Regions from separate parts of the Homo sapiens genome. Here regions 2, 3 and 4 are each linked to region 1. The links are contacts of gene promoters, found by promoter capture Hi-C in human tissues and cell types (Jung and others, 2019). All regions are on one chromosome and are shown on one strand. Each heading gives the region's core, a stretch centred on a gene start or on the middle of the fragment in contact. The rest is flanking DNA. Distances are from core to core; before and after follow the strand shown. Region 1 holds the start of KCNE2 (potassium voltage-gated channel subfamily E regulatory subunit 2). Region 2 overlaps MRPS6 (mitochondrial ribosomal protein S6). Region 3 has its middle 31 kb from the start of LINC00310. Region 4 overlaps KCNE1 (potassium voltage-gated channel subfamily E regulatory subunit 1).

Region 1 (2,624 bases), core at 80-2,579:
ATAGAAAAGGATCTTTTGGTAAATAGAGTATGTTTAGCTCTTGCTAGGTCTTTAAATACTTTGCTGGGGGCCAGGCACCATGGCTCACACCTGTAATCCCACCGCCTTAGGAGACTGAGGCTGGAGGATCCTTTGCGGCCAAGAGTTTGAGACCAGCCTGGGCAACACAGCAAGACCCTATTTCTACAAAAATAAAAATAAAAATTAACCAGGCTTTGTACACACTTGTAGTCCCATTACTTGGGAGGCTGAGGCAGGAGGATCCCTCAAGCCCAAGAGTTCAAAGCTGTAGTGAGCTATGATTGCGCCACTGCACTCCAGCCTGGGTGACAGAGTAAGACTCTGTTTCAAAACAACAACAACAAACAAAAACCTCAAAACCTCTTTGTTGGACTTAACTTCCAGCTCCTCCATGTAGTACCTTAGTACCCTTGCAGCCCGTTTCTCTTTTACAAGACAACAATGTTGTTATAAACTCATTTGGATGTGGTCCCGTGGAGGAGTATTTACCAGAATCTAGCTTATTTAGCGTCTTCAGAACACGGCACTTGCCTGGAATTATACTGACCCCCTCAACCCATACCAACCACCCAGAGATGGCTGTTCTTGGCTCCTCTCCCTGGGGCCCTGTCCTTCCCACATCGTCTTCTTCTTCTTTCTTCTTCTTTCTTCTTCCTTCTTCTTCCTTCTTCTTCCTTCTTCTTCCTTCTTCTTCCTTCTTCCTCTTCCTCTTCCTCTTCTTCTTTCTTCTTTCATTGAGACAGAGTCTCACTCTGTCACCCAGCCTGGAGTGCCGTGGTATGATTTCAGCTCACTGTAACTTCTGCCTTGTGGATTCAAGTGATTCTCCTGCCTCAGCCTCCAGAGTAGCAGGGACTACAGGTGTGTGCCACCACACCTGGCTAATTTTTACATTTTTAAGTAGAGACGGGGTTTCACCATGTTGGCAAGGCTGGTCTTGAACTCCTGATCTCAGGTGATCTGCCCGCCTCAGCCTCCCAAAGTGCTGGGATTACAGGCGTGAGCCACCCCACCCAGCCCTTCCCACGTATTCTGGCAGGGAATGCTGTTGTCCCCCAAGCCTACCCTAAGAGGAAGACTTCTTCTGGGGAAAGATGTTCACTGTACCCAGGCCCTGCCCTGGCTGGAGCTGGCAGGAAGGGTCCCAGAGCAGGAACTTGTGCCACTCTGCCCAAAGCCAGAGTCCCTGAGGCACACACCCCATCAGGCACCAAGGTGAATTCCAACTGCCAGTTAGTATTTAACTTTCCACATACGATTAGATTAAACATGTGGGTTCATAAAAGCATAGGATTGCAGACTGCAGTTGCAAGGGCTTAGATGGTTGTAAGGTGAAGGTGCCCAGCAGGCTGAGGCTTGTGTGCAACCCAGAAGAGAGCTCGCTAACGCCAGCAAGAAGGTTCAGAACAGCCTGGCTTTGGAAAGGAATTTCATCCTGCCCACACACTGCATAGGTAAGTCTTAGCACACATTCTTTATTTTTTGAGGAATTAAGTAACAAAGTTATCTATGTGCCTTTTCCAGAAAATGATAAAAGGAATGATTTTCCTGGTACATGGCCTGGCTCCTCATCCACTCTTCCTTCTTTCCTTCTTGTGTTTTCCTTACTCATTTCTTTGTTAATTGCCTTAGAATGAAAATTTTGAGAGTTTTTAAAATGGAGGATTCATGGTAAACGTAGGTAATCATATTGTTTTCTCTTCTTGATATAAAAATGAAAGACTTTGCTGCCTTTTATAGGCCCAGGTGATGTGAGCGATCTACCATGTTTCAAGAAAAGAAAACTTTGGGGCTGGGCGCGGTGGCTCACGCCTGTAATCCCAGCACTTTGAGAGGCTGAGGCAGGCGGATCACCTGAGGTCAGGAGATCGAGACCAGCCTGGCCAACATAGTGAAACCCCATCTCTACTAAAAATACAAAAAAAATTAGCCTGGCGTGGTGGCTGGCGCCTGTAGTCCCAGCTACTCAGGAAGCTGAGGCAGGAGAACGGCATGAACCCGGGAGGTGGAGCTTGCAGTGAGCCGAGATCACGCCACTGCACTCCAGCCTGGGCGACAGAGTGAGACTCCATCTCAAAAAAAAAAAAAAGAAAGAAAAGAAAACTCTGGACTTTGGGGTCAAATGAGTGTTACTTTCCTAATAGTGTCCTGATTGCTGTTGTCATGAATAACACACATTCATGACAGGAATGGCTGGAATTAGGGGATCATTCTGTAGCCTGGAGACAGGGCACAACTAATGACATGTGTAAGCTCAAATCATGGTCTTGATCTTATGTCTTGTACCCAGTTGAGCCAACTGGTCACAGCAATGAAAACAGTGAGTTATTGGAATGTGTGACCTCTGCTAGGACAGTCAGTGCTGGACACTGGCTTGGGTGATGTGAGTTCTAGTCCAGGCACTGTGGCCAACTTGAGAGGCTTGTGATCTTGGACAGGTGACTTAAGCCCTCTAGGCTATAGTTATTCCACCTATCAGAGAGCAAACCAGCCTAAATGATCTCCAGGGGCCCAGCCTGTGCTAGGACTCAGCAAGAAGCATTCACTGGAAATGTAGGTCCTCCTAGGTTGATACACATGAATTGCCCATATTTGACCATTTC
Region 2 (2,624 bases), core at 87-2,586, 240 kb before region 1:
AACTTCAGGTTCAGGCCTGTAGAGGTAAGTAATCACATTTGAACATGTACTTAGGCATCTTTATGTTTCTTAGTGTTCTAGACTTGTCCTTATTGAATTTTATTCTAATTTAAAAAGTAGTTTCTGTGTTCGATAATTTTTATTCCTTAATTACCTAGAGGACTGAAACTCCTGATTCAATAAATTGTTGGGCAAAAGAGGTTCTCTACAATGAAGAATATTTGATCAAACAGTTCCTGTGGAATCAATTTCATAGTTGGGCTTTGCTTATGTCATTAGGCAAGGCTGGCACTTCACATATTTTTATGTAGATGGTTCTCCCAAGGTCTGCTAGAACTTCAGCCACTTTCCATGACACCCATTTGACTGTTGAAAAGTTAGGGCTCACAGATTTTCAGATTGCTGTGAGAATGTCAATGCAGAATTCACAGGGACAGCCTTTCTATTTGAAAATTTAAATTGCAAGGAAATTTTTTAAAGGAAGTAAGATTTGGAATTAAGATTCAGCAAAGAATGGGAAAGACTTTTACATGTACATTTTCACAGGTTTTGACAGTTCTGTGTCTTGGCTCTACCTTCCCTGAGTCCTGCCTGCTCTTGAGTGTTGTATAACTCTTTGTAACGTGAGGCGGGCAGGGTGTAGGTAGATGCTGCATGCTGTTGAATGTTGTGGATTCTATGTGTGCTTTATTTTCTGGGGAACTAGGGTGTGGTAGTGCTAGCTGGGTATATTGGAGGCCACTGGCTTAAAACTGTCTTTCCCATAGAGTCTAATTTCTAAGATAATTTTGTTGACAAGTTTCTCTTCTGGGATGAAAATATGTTTAATTAGGTTAAACGTTGGTCATTGACTAGTGGTGGTGGTTATGATACTTCCATGAATTCTTAGCTTCAGTAACCTTCCTGAGTGGGGATTTTATTTGGGGGACAAGGAGAGATTCCTTTCTTCCTTTCATTCTTCCCACCTTTTTGCTCTCATCTTTTACTACAGCAACTTTTCCCATTAGCATCTCTAGAACTGTGGTTTTCAAAATATGGTTTGAGGACTCTTGGGCTTTACGGGGGACCCTTTTAGAAGATCATTGTGAAAACAGTAGTGAGTAGAACAGCTGGTACGTTAGCATGAATCTAGTCAGCAGCATTAACTTTTCCTAGCAGTACGTGTATTCTTCATTGCTATGCAGTTGCAGTTTTCAAAACTGGCTTCACTGCAGAATGTCCTTCAGAATGATGAGTGGTACCAGAGTAGTATTTAGTCTTGGTAGGGGCTTTAAGAAGTTGTTGAGTTCAACCTCCCACCCATGCAGATATTAATCCAACAGCCATCCTGTATCTATTTATGTACTTCAAGTGATGGGAAGGTCACTACTTCACAAGGCAGCCCACTGCATTTTCATACAGCTGTATATTTTTGGAAATATGTTCTTGTTTACAAAATACAGCTTGATTTCTCTAATTTTTACCCTTTGATTCTAGTCCACTCTTGGAATCCAATCAAAATAAAACAAATCTACCTTTTGCATAATAGCCCTGCAAATATTTGAAGTTAGCTCTTGGGTTTTCCCTAAGTCTTTTGTAGGCTAAACATTAGTTTTGGTAATTAATATAAAAAATTAGCTTTAATTTCTTCTAGGATTAATTACCTTTTTTATAAGTATTATACTATTTCGTTAAATTTTTGGATAGTACTTTATCTTACCTAATCAGCAAATAATTATAATGTAATTTTAACATTTATATTTATATGTGTATTGGAATTTGATATTTGAAATGTATAAAATATTTAATTAATTTCACTTCTAGATGAATTGTAGGTATTTTTGAAATACAGTATTGGTGTGAACAGCATTTTGGTACTGCGTGAAGTAAATGGGAAAACATTAGTATTGTAATTTTGCCTCAGTGTTACAGTTACCACCTTGATAGTGAGCTTTGTTGTATATGAAAAGTGGCTTCAAGTTATGTTAGAGATAGAAGGAAACTTAGAGTTCCTTGAGGAAAGATAGGAGTAAGTAAGCAAGAGACCCTCTTAAAGGAGGTACAATTAGCACAGCTATTTCTAGCACCTGTTCGATGAGTGTGGCCCATTTTAGACGTTGGGAATACAGTCATGTACAAGATAGACAAAGGTCCTTGCTCCTCTGTAGCTTACATTCTGGTTAGTGAAAGAATATTTTTAGATTGCTGTAGTGCTGTTAGAAGTAAAAAAAGAATGACATCAGGAGAACTGGGGGATGGAGGTGCATTTTGGTGATGAAGATATCAGAATTGGGGGGCATAAAAAGACTTTCATCAAACTTTGTTGTGCCTCCAGCAGATGTTGAGAATTGCAGTATGAATGTTGTTTATTCATGTGAAGCTTGTAGCAACAGGAAAATCGAGAACTACTAATTTAGCAGATGAGGAAACTGAGGTACAAGTTTAAAATTGATAAATTTTAATAACATATTCAGGTTTGTATAACTCATTAGTGAATGAGCTAGGACTAGAATCATAGTCCTAGTTTTTCTAGTTTCCATTCCCATTCATTCATTCCTTTCTTTCTGTATTTTTTTTTCAAATGAATGTTTTCAGCCCTCAGTCTGTGCCTTGCCAAAGTGTGTTTCATTGATGCATTTGGTAGG
Region 3 (2,624 bases), core at 66-2,565, 210 kb before region 1:
CGTAGGAGCGTGTGAAAAGTACAAATTATTCTCTCTCTGCTGTGGTCTGGGCTACTGCCATTTGCGTTAGGAGGTCTCCGCAGAGAGATGACGGCACCTGTAATGGCCTTGTGATGCTACCTGCCAGTCCCTGGCCTGTTTTCTGCACCTGGAAACAGACAAGTATGGTGTTGATGGTGGGAAGTTTCCAAGGCGATTTGTGGGATTCTTGGTCACCTTGAAAAAATGCAGTAGTGGAATGATCATAGGACTTTGGGTTGGAGAACTGCTCAGAGAACTCTCCACCCACCAGCCTTGACCATGTTCAGTTTCTTCTCCCGGTCTAAGTGTCCTCACATGGAAAATGTGGCCAGTGAAGCAGATGGTCTCAAAGAGCCTGTCCTGGTCTCTAATACCCTGGACCGAGTTACTGCCTGGTTTGCTGAAGAGTTATTCCATCAGTGATTAAAGAACTTGGTAGTTGGTAGGATATGGAGGTGGGGAAGGGTTAAAATAATTTCTTAGAGGCTTATTCTTTGCACACTTCTTTTCATGTTCTGATAAGCATAGCTGTTGTTTTCATAACCTGCCATTGGATTCTGTGGGGCTGACTAGTAATCTCATTCTAAACAGAATAGGCCTGTCTTTAATCACAAGAAAACAGCAAAGGAGTCCCAGAGGTCAGCACAGTCATTTGCTGGGCTCAGATTGCCAGCATTCTTTTTGTTCTCTGAAAATGAAGCTTTAAGGGACATGGCTTACAGCCAAATACAGGCAAGACACATTCTGTTAGTCGCAGGAGGAAAACCATGTCGAAACGAAAAGTCCATATTGGTGGTAGTTTTTTGAGAGCTACACCACAACCCCCAAAATTGACCTCTAAAGTGACAACAGTAAGACCTGGATAATCCTGCACATTCCTAGTGCCACCACAACCCAGTGAGATTAACAAAAGACTCATGGAACCAAACTTCATCCCCAAAGTATTCAGGTCCGCTGGGCTGCTGAAGGGGAGCAGCACTGGTGTCTGGGTGTGGCATCTGAACCTTTGCTTCCAGAACACCAGCATCGTCACATTTCTCAGAGAAAGCAATTTGCCTTGAGACAGTTCCATTGTGAGTGGAAGAGACAAGGGTGCATTGTTCACCAGACAATGCCTGAAGTAAGGATTATGCAAAATGGACTCTTGACCTCTCTATTCCAAATAAGTGGGAGACTCTGTAGTTTCCATAAAGCTTGTATTGAGCTAAATGATGTGACTTGGATGTAGCATCCTTTGTCTAATCGGATACCAAAATGTTAAGCACCTATTTGTGAAAGACTGGATATTACACTTTGACAGAGGTGTCAGGCTCTGTTAATTGGTATCGTGGATGCTCATTATTGGCAGATTCCATATTTGCGAGTCTGCTTACTTGCTAAAATTTATGTCCTCAAAATGAATACCCATGATACTTTTGTAGTCATTCAACGGGTATGTGTAGAGTAGCAAAGAATTTGAGTCACTTGACAAGTCTGTTCCCTGTCGAACAAAGCAACACTCTGCCTTCTTGTTCCAGCTCTCATACTGTAAACAAGTGTCTTTTTCACTATTTAGTGCCATTTTTTTTTTTTGCATTTGTGTGCTTTTTCATGGTGCTTTTGCTGTTTCAAATGGCCCCCAAGTGTAGTGCTGCAGGACTGTGTTCTAAGCGCAAGAAGGCTGTGATGTGCCTTTTGGAGAAGATACCTGTTAGACAAACTTGTTCAGCCATGAGTTCTAGTGCCATTGGCCTTGAGTTCAATGTTAATCAACAGTATGTAGTAAACGTCTTTAAAACGAAACACACATAAAACAAGCTCACGGATTGATGGGTTGACATAAGCGTTGTGACCAAAGGCTAACCTAACCCTGTATTTCCCCTAGGAGCGATAATTCAGGGTTCTCTAAGTCAGTGTTGATGGCAACTTTAAAGAACACAACTACTGCAGATAACAAGAATAGGCTCTATTTGATGCAGGAATTTTGCTTAGTTTTCTGCTGAGGGTCTTTTTGACATCTTTCTGTAAATCTCCAACTTTTACCTGCAAAAAAGGGGAGTTTGATTCCCACCATTTTTCTTACTCTGCTTGTCTTGTCTGTCTCCCACCATCCTGCCTCCTCTTCTCATGCACACAAACTTTCATCCTCCACCATCTCCCGTCCACTAGGCAACTATGACATCTGCATGAGCAAGGGGCCTTCTCTTTGAAAGGAGCCCTTAGAAAAGTACCTTGGCAGAGAATTTGGTGATGTGGCCAGAAAGAGCCAGACTGTACTAGGAGAGCCTGGATGCAGTACTCCTGTTACCTTCCAGCCTCAGGAACAGGCAGATTGGATGGGGTTTAGTGAGGCCAAGGAAAGGGATAATTAGTAAGTATAGCAACTCTCCTCTGCAGGCACCATGACAGCTCAGGAGTTTTCAAATACTCTCCAAATACATTTTAATTACTTTTAAAACACCAGCAAAGGGTCATTCACAAAGCAAAATCACAGGGGATTTTAAAGGCGCTGATTTTATAAAGTTAGCAGTTAAATGTTTTAAAAGCTTGTTCCTCTTCCATATATCTTACCAGATCTAAAAATAATATGAAGAAGTTATTTATAAATGTGGCTAAGTAAAATG
Region 4 (2,624 bases), core at 90-2,589, 140 kb after region 1:
CCAGTCCCTAGGCCCCACATCAATGGGCACAGGGCCTTCGGAGGAAAGGACAACCACTCCGTCGTGGAGGGAGAACACTTTGGACTCGGGTGTGTGTTTGAGGGATTCCAGAGGGTAGAGGTTGAGGAAGAGGAGTTGGGAGAGTGAGAAGGTAGGATGTTGCACAGGATGAGACCCTTCCTCTCAAACCAAACCTAATAGCCAATAAGTACAGGAAAAGATCCTTGACATCTCTAGTGATCAGGGAAATGCAAATCCAAACCCCAATAAGAAACCACTTCATACTCTCCAGGGTGGCCAGAATACAAAAGGCTGAGAACAAGTATTGGGAGGATGTGGAGAGATCAGAACACTCCTACGCTGCTGGTGGCAATGTAAAACGGTACAGCTGCCTTGGAAAACAGGTCCCCAAATGTTAAACACAGAGCTATCACAGGACTCAGCAATTCCACTCCTACATATATACCCTGAGAGAAATGAAAGTACATGTCCACATGGACACTTGGACACAAATGTGCATAGCAGCATTATTCATAGTAGCCAAAACCCAAATGTTCATCAACTGATGAATGAACTGACACAATGTGGTCTATCCAGACAATGGAATATTAGTCATGAAAAGGGATGAAGTACTTATACTTGATATACCATGGATGAACCTCAAGTATGTTAGGCTAAGTGAAAGAAGCCAGTCACAAAAGACCTCCTGTTATGTGATTCATTCATATGAAAGTCCAGAATAGGGAAATCTATAGAAACAGAAAGAAGATTAGTGGGAACTTAGGGCTCAGCTTGCGAGGTGGGGGCAGGGGCAGGAAGATGGGAGGTGACAGCTAAAGGGTTTGGAGTTTTGTTTGGAGGTGATGAAAATGTTCTAAAACTGACCGAAGTGATGGTTGCACATATCTGTGAATAGACCAAAAACCATTGATCATACACATTAAATGGGCGAATTGTATACATGCAAGTTATATCTCAGTTAAGGCATTAAGAACTAAACAAAAACTAAGAACACAGATCTTCTGTCTTTCCTATTTATTTATTTATTTTGAGACAGAGTCTTGCTCTGTCACCCAGGCTGGAGTGCAATGGCGTGATCTCGGCTCACTGCAACCTCCGCCTCCTGGGTTCAAGCAATTCTTCTGCCTCAGCCTCCCAAGTAGCTGGGATTACAGGCACCCGACACCACACCCGACTAATCTTTTGTATTTTTAGTAGAGATGGGGTTTCACCATGTTGGCCAGGCTGGTCTGGAACTCCTGACCTCAGGTGATCCACTTGCCTCGGCCTCCCAAAGAACTGAGATTACAGGCGCGAGCCACCACGCCTGACCACCTTGATCACCTTTTTTTTTTTGGAAAGCAATGAGGGAGCAACACTTTGTTACCTGGGAGGCGTGGACCAAAAGAGAGGCAGAGGCTGGAGGGAGAGTGTGAGGCAGGGATCAATGGGCATCATGCCAGGCTTAGGGCATCCCCAAAGCTGTGGGATTGGGGCTTGAAGCCCAGGTCTTAGAGACCTGAGCAGGCCCAGCTGACACAGGCTGCAAACAAATGTCCTCTCATCCTCACCGCAATCCCTACAAGCTGCTCACCTCCTGTTGCCATGTGGATGTGTCCTGAGTGGCCCACGCAGATTTCTACACTTGATCCCCTCGCTTGAAATAAAAGGAGATAAAGTGAGTACAAACACCCTTATGCATTACTGTAGCTCAAACGAGGCCAGACTAGATCCTAAAGAAGACCTGGCGTGGGCCATCTTCTAGAGTCATCCCACCTCCCAGGACAAGCAAAGGTCCTGCCTCCAAGTCATTGCAACTTATATGACACAGCAAGGCAATATAGACTCTGGGGGAAAAAGTTTTTTAACTACAGTATTTTTAAAATAGAACATTATTTTGAAATTACTTCGACATCTACTGTCAGGTGACTTGTAAAAGCGCTTGTATGTTAAATGCTCTACATTAGGAGATTATTTTGTTCTTGAGTCCCTACAGAGAATTCCTTGGGAATGAAGTGCTATTGTGCATTCAGAATTATGTGGCTATAGCCATATTGCAGGCCGGGAACTCAGGAATGTCCCCTCTGTCCCAGCTCTTCAAGTTGGGCCCTACAGATCCCACGGGGACAAGCTTTTGGAAAATTGCTGGGTTTCTAGACCAATCACGTCTTTGAAATGTCTTCTTGTCACTCCGTGGTTTCTTGCTTCAGCTTAACCCCACTGGCCCCATAGATCAGGCAGCTCACAATTTGAACACAGCCAGGGGGCATGGAGGATGAGAACCAATCTATCCTGACAATCCTGGCAGCACGTGGGGAAAGCCAGGCCCAAGTTTCCATATGTGAACACATTACATTGTCTCCACCAAGAAAAGAGCCCCTGTGAAATATTCATGTGCGTCACCCACTTTGCCTTAGGTTCCATTACCTAAGGGACAGACCTGGTGTTGCTCAACAGTGCCAGGCTTAGCACTGCCAGGGGAGATCTGCAGCTACAAAGAGTTAAAGAAGAAGGAATTGAATTGAGTTATAAGCAATACATCTAATAAATATTTATTGAGTGACTATTTCATTCCAAGCATTCTGCTAGGTGCTGAGAAATCAGAAACAAATACATTGAACTCA

Evidence for each region. The method cuts DNA at HindIII sites, captures the fragments that hold promoters and counts their contacts. A contact is called where the count stands out against the background at its distance.
Region 2: a fragment that was not itself captured here is called in contact with the fragment with the promoter of KCNE2 in region 1 in 1 of the 25 tissues and cell types used here (dorsolateral prefrontal cortex).
Region 3: a fragment that was not itself captured here is called in contact with the fragment with the promoter of KCNE2 in region 1 in 2 of the 25 tissues and cell types used here (dorsolateral prefrontal cortex and heart left ventricle).
Region 4: a contact is called between a fragment that was not itself captured here and the fragment with the promoter of KCNE2 in region 1, in 4 of the 25 tissues and cell types used here (H1 embryonic stem cells, lymphoblastoid cells, mesenchymal stem cells and 1 more).

Annotation. Positions count from the first base shown.
Region 1 is chr21:34,362,677-34,365,300 of GRCh38, forward strand. KCNE2 (potassium voltage-gated channel subfamily E regulatory subunit 2) reads left to right here and starts at 1,330. Exons shown (of 2, transcript NM_172201.2): 1 at 1,330-1,475. All of the region lies in intron 2 of LOC105372791 (a long non-coding RNA gene), which reads right to left. The HindIII fragment of the contact is 19,800 bases long and covers 1-2,624 here.
Region 2 is chr21:34,118,954-34,121,577 of GRCh38, forward strand. The region is part of intron 1 of MRPS6 (mitochondrial ribosomal protein S6); the gene reads left to right. Among named protein-coding and RNA genes, the nearest start is that of SLC5A3, 47 kb to the left of the region's middle. The HindIII fragment of the contact is 5,228 bases long and covers 1-2,624 here.
Region 3 is chr21:34,147,926-34,150,549 of GRCh38, forward strand. No RefSeq gene overlaps it. Among named protein-coding and RNA genes, the nearest start is that of LINC00310, 31 kb to the right of the region's middle. The HindIII fragment of the contact is 3,436 bases long and covers 1-2,624 here.
Region 4 is chr21:34,504,102-34,506,725 of GRCh38, forward strand. The region is part of intron 2 of KCNE1 (potassium voltage-gated channel subfamily E regulatory subunit 1); the gene reads right to left. Among named protein-coding and RNA genes, the nearest start is that of KCNE1, 6.8 kb to the right of the region's middle. The HindIII fragment of the contact is 7,108 bases long and covers 1-2,624 here.